Linked DNA regions of Homo sapiens: region 1 is linked to region 2. Evidence: promoter capture Hi-C in human tissues and cell types (Jung and others, 2019). All regions are on one chromosome and are shown on one strand. Each heading gives the region's core, a stretch centred on a gene start or on the middle of the fragment in contact. The rest is flanking DNA. Distances are from core to core; before and after follow the strand shown.

Region 1 (2,700 bases), core at 115-2,614, 1.1 Mb after region 2:
TGGTGACGGGCACAAAGGTTGTGCCACAGGTAGTTTCCTTTTAGGGCGTTTAGGGTCTTGTGACCCTAGATGTGCCTCTCTACCTTCCCCAGGGCTTAGCAGCTAGGAGGGACCCTGCAGGGGCAGAGTGATCGGTGCCAGCCTGGGGCGGGGCTGTGGGGTGGGCAGCCCCCTTCACAGGCTGTCCATGCACTGGGGTGAGATGGGGCCCAGGGAGGGGTGTGGGGGGAAGGATGATCAGATTTTCCCAATGTGAAGGTGTGGGGCAACAGGGATCCCTATGTTTCTAGAGGAGGGGATGGCAGATGTCACCAGTGCCCTACCCTCGTGCCCTCCACTGGGATGACTCTGAGCTGGGGGTCCCACATGCCTCCCTGAGCTCCTCAATGGGATTAAGGTCCAGTCATCAGGCTTTCCTCCCTCCCCTGCCCGCCTTCCCCACCTCCCTACTGGGACCTCCTGGGATTACCTCCCAAATAAACAACCTGCCCTTGAATCTTTTTCACAGGTCCTGCTTCTGGGGAAACTCAAGACAGTATAAATTGGTGCAATCTATTTGGAGAAAGATTCAGCAATAAGTATCAAAATTATAAATGTACGTGTTCACGGGCCAGCAGCTCCACTTCTGGGAATTTATGCCATAAATATAACCTTTCATATGCCATATGATCTATGAATGAGGTTATTTATGGCAGCACTACTTTTAAGAGCCAAAGATTGAAAACACCTAAATGCCCATCGCTGGGGATGAGTTCGGCAGATCAGGGTTCATTCAACTGGCAGAATATTATGCAATCATTAAAAAGGAATGGAGGGGGCTACTCTTTATGGACTGATTTGGAACAATCTCCAAGATAAATTGCTAAGTGGGAAAAAAAGCAAGGTATAGAAGAGCACGTTTGTATAAAACAAAAAGAATATATAGCCGTAATTGCTTACTTATTGGATCGACGATCTCTGCAAATCTACCAAGAAACTGATAACCTTGGAGCCTGTGGAGAGAGGAATTAGGTGGCTGGGAGTGGGGAAGGGAGGGAGATTTTCAGGATATTTCCTATGCACCTTTTGATTTTTGCATCATGTGCAAGTTTGCATTATCTATTTAAAATGTAGTCTATGCAACTAAAAAAAATTATGAAGAATAATCATATACCTGGGTGCCTGCTATAATGATCAGTCCAATTTTAGCTTGTCTCGGGAAAGTTGAACCCATGGCTGGCAGCTTTCAACCTTCTCTTTCTCATTTACCACTCCCATAAGGTGGTTCTGCATCATTACTCCAGGGTTTCTAAATAATTAAAGTAGGCCTGAGTCCAGCCTTCCCCCAAGATGCTGAGAGTCCAAGCCGTCCTTCCCCTATCCCCTACCTGAGACATCAGAAGCTTCTTAAATAGTCCTGACTATTTAAGGGAAGAAGGACAGTTGCAGCCCTTCCTTTCTCGAGTGATTTGAAATGCAGACCACGGTTTTTGGAGAGGAGGAGATGAGGCAGGAGGCTGGAAGAAATGACCTTTTCACATCAGCTCTTCCTGGGTGGGTACCTATATTCCAGGGGCCTGGCGCAGTACCTGGCGCGTTTGTTGGCTGGCTGGCTGAATGTCTTTTTGTCCCAGAATTCCAGGCATGCAGGAACAAGGGGAAAGATGACCCCTCCTTCCAGTTCCTGGGGTCCTAGTCAATAATGGTTGGTGAGCAGAGCTCTGAAGTTGGACACTTTCGGGTAAAAATCCCAGCTGTAGCCTCCTTACTGCTATGAGACCTTAGGTGAATATCTACCCGAGCCTCAGTTTCCTCATCTACGCAATGGAGACAGAGGCCCCCTTTGCAAAGGATTAAATAAGGTTGCATCGGGGTGCTGCACAGTGTGCCCAGCACATAGTAGGCTTTGCTAGGTGTCTGCATATCTCTCCCCCTCCCTTGGCAGAAGGATGACCACTGCCACTGCTGAGACCAGACACTGTCCCCTCCTTGCCACCCTTGACTTGAGGGTGGAAGGAGGACCACCCTCAAGTCAAGGAGGTCCTCCTTCCATCTAACTGAAAACTCTCCGCTGTTACCCAGGCCGGTGCCCTCCTATGCTACTGTCATGCACAAGAGAAAAAGCTCTCAGCTTGTTCCCACTGAGCCTCTTCCAGATCTGAAGCCCCAAGGAAAGTCAAGGTTGAGTCCTGTGGGCCCAACAATGGGCAGCCCCAGGCCCTCTCTCTTTGCTTCCAATCCAGTCTCATCACTTTTCTCCTCTCTGCCCCCTCCTGGGCAGAGCGACTCTTGGTGCAAGGTCAGCTGTGAGCTGTCCAGGGTCCCTGGGCACACTCCTGCTCCTTCTCTGCCCCATTTCCTTCCCCTGCACCCAGGGAGTTGGGAAATAGCTCAGATTCCGATGACAAGGAGACTGGGCCCTAGGCAGAGCAGTGGCTGACAAGTTGCATGTTACAATAAATCCCCACAATTAGACCCTGCAAACAACACCGCTGCTGTCGCATCCCTAATATACAGCAGGGAGTCGGCTCAGTGTTCCTGGCAACCAATTCTTGAACTAAAAATAGTTGGCTGTGGCTTCACCTTTCCCTCCTCAGCATCCAGTCTCCATAGGTGCCAGGGAGGGAATGACCCTGGTGTCCAGGTCCTGCCCTGGTGCTGGAGGGCAGAGCATCAAGGGTTAACCCAGCCTTCACTAATGTGACTGTCAAGGAATTGCCC
Region 2 (2,700 bases), core at 31-2,530:
CTGAATGGAGAATGGATTATACTGGGGAGAGATAGGAAGCTACTCGGGAGTAGAAGTGAAGAATTGACCGCAGTACTTTAGGCAAGAAATGATAGCAGCTTGAACTAGGGTGGTGGTGGTCTGATTCCAGATGTACTTTGGAGGCAGAGTTAGTAGGATTTTTTTCTTGGAGTGGGGATGGGCACAAGGGAAAGTACTGAAAGACAACTTCTAGGTTTTTGGTTTGAGCAACTGGGTGAATGATTGTGACATTTGAGTAAACAGTAACATTTTACTGAGAGGGGAAGACCTGGGGGGAGAACAGGTGGTTTTTTGACAGGGGCAGCGAAACAAATGTTCTGTTTTGAATGTGTTCAGCCTGAGGTGCCTATTAGACATCCAAATTGAAATAGCCAGTAGGCACTTGAATATGTGAGTCTGGAGATCAGACAGGTCAGAGCTACAGAAAATCTGAAGGTGTGGCAGAGCTGAATTGTAAAGCTGTGGAGCTGGATGAGATCTCCTAGGGAGATAAGGGAGAGGGATAAGGGCTAAAGCGTTGGCATACTCCAAAATATATAGGTGAACAGTGGCTTTGGATCCAGCAAAGGGGACTGAGGAGGAACCATTGAGATAGGGAAAAAAACGGTAGAGTGCTGAGTCATGGAAGCAAAAAGAAGAAAGTATTTCAAAGAAGGAATAGTCCATCTATAAGTTGGATATGATAAGGATAGTATTTCAGACTGTGGAAATCACAGTTGACCTGGATAAGTACAGTTTTTGTGGGGAGGTCCCCAGCTCTCCACTGAATGATCTCTTATTAGATCAAATTTGATCTCTAATTAGCAGTCTAATTAGATGGGTTGAAGAAAAGATGGGAAGTGAGGGATAAAGATACGTCTTTTGAGAAGTTTTGTTGGGCAGGTAATAATTGAAGAACGGGAGGGGGACAAAAATGTGAAGATGAAATGATGTGTAAGTGAAATCTTTATGTAAACTGCAAATGCTCTGCAAGTGTTAGGCTTATTTTGTTATTTAGTATTCAAACTTCTAGGAATTTCAATGCAGCTCAGTGTGAAGAATCACTAAAAAGCGACCACTAGTCCTCAACTTGAGGGCCATTAAGGGGCAAAGCCGTCTAGCCAGTGAAGAGCCAAGAAATGAAGAGACGGTTTGAGAAGACGTAGGCGGTGGGGGAACGGAAAGAGGAATCGCGAAACTAATATTGTCCTTCCAAGGACACCGTAGGGCGGATCTCGCAGCTACGGCGTTCTTTTAGGGGTGGAGCCGGCAGGAAATTTAAACTGAAGCCGCGGCCGAAAACGCCAAGAGATTGATGCTGTAGCTGCCCTGAGATAACCAGGACTGTGGAATCGGGAAGAGCTCATGGAGCTCGCGAATGTAATACGGAGGCCTCTGAGGAAGGAGTACGGAGGCCGAGAAGGAGCCGGCATTTGATGAGCGAACCGGGAAAGGGTACGGATGCCGGGAAGGGGAGAAAGAAAGGCGGAAGGGGTCGTTAATAGCTGAGGCGAGGTGCGGAGTCGTGGAGGGGGCTTAGGAAGTGACCAGCGGGTAGGTGCCGAAGCTGAGGAGGGTATAGGGGCCGGGAAGGAGCCACAGGAGTTGAGGGGACCGAGGAATGAAGGTGGCAGAGGAACGTAGGGGACAACAGCCTGGAGGGATGTATGGAGATTGAGATGGACAGGAGGTGGCCAAGAGGTCACGGCCGTTGACTGAACGGAGTCTGAAAGGAGGCGGAGGGCATGAGGGGCAAGAGCCTGGCGGGAGTCGCGGGATGTAGGTCGGAATGGAGTTGAGTCTTGCTGTTCCCAGGAGTCGCGTTTCTGTGCGCGTTTTGGGAGACAGTAGTGGGCGGGAGGCATGGAAGTTCCAAGGGTTGGTGAAGATGGTTGAGTTGCTGTTATGTCCTTTCTCAGGAGACGATTGCCTCGAGCTGGAGAGTTCCATGGCTGAGAGTAGGCTCCGGGCCCCGGACCTAGGTGGGTAACAGGACAGAACTAGGGACGTGAGGTGAAAATTGCCCCAGGGTCTCTTGGAGAAGACCGAAAAATGTTCCCCCTGTTGGAGTTTTCGATCACTCAGTGTTTTTATGTACTTATTTATTCATTTTATTTATTGGGATGGGGTCTTGCTGTGTTGGCCAAGCTGGTCTCAAACTCCTGGCCTCAAGCAGTTCTCCTGCCTAGGCCTCCCAAAATGCTGGGATTACAGGTGTGAGCCACTTCACCAGGCCCACTTAGTGGTTTTATGTGTGTGTGTGTATGGACGCAGCATCATAGACCGTTTTGGGATTCATGATAAAGGTCAAGTAAGAGTCATATTATGAACAAGATTAACAGACAGATGTGGAGTCAGGATAGAGTGACTTATTAAATATATAAATTAATACATTCATAGTTGTTTACAATAAAATCCTTAAGTTAAACACTGCTACCTAATTAGGTAAGTATTTTAGCACATGGCACTTCCCTCCGTACTGCCCCTTTAGTTAATATCATCTAGTTGGCCGGGCGCGGCTGCTCACGCCTGTAATCCCAGCACTTTGGGAGGCCAAGGCGGGCGGATCACGAGGTCAGGAGATTGAGACCATCCTGGCTAACACAGTGAAACCCCATCTCTACTAAAAATACAAAAAATTAGGCGGGCGTGGTGAGGCGTGCCTGTAGTCCCAGCTACTCAGGAGGCTGAGGCAGGAAA

The links. The method cuts DNA at HindIII sites, captures the fragments that hold promoters and counts their contacts. A contact is called where the count stands out against the background at its distance.
Region 1: a contact is called between a fragment that was not itself captured here and the fragment with the promoter of DBF4B in region 2, in 1 of the 25 tissues and cell types used here (spleen).

The regions. Positions count from the first base shown.
Region 1 is chr17:45,765,897-45,768,596 of GRCh38, forward strand. All of the region lies in intron 3 of LINC02210-CRHR1 (LINC02210-CRHR1 readthrough), which reads left to right. Among named protein-coding and RNA genes, the nearest start is that of CRHR1, 17 kb to the right of the region's middle. The HindIII fragment of the contact is 6,380 bases long and covers 1-2,700 here.
Region 2 is chr17:44,707,385-44,710,084 of GRCh38, forward strand. DBF4B (DBF4B-CDC7 kinase regulatory subunit) reads left to right here and starts at 1,281. Exons shown (of 14, transcript NM_145663.3): 1 at 1,281-1,455; 2 at 1,920-1,982. The coding sequence starts at 1,437. RefSeq lists enhancers at 1,087-1,601, 1,602-2,115. The HindIII fragment of the contact is 13,873 bases long and covers 1-2,700 here.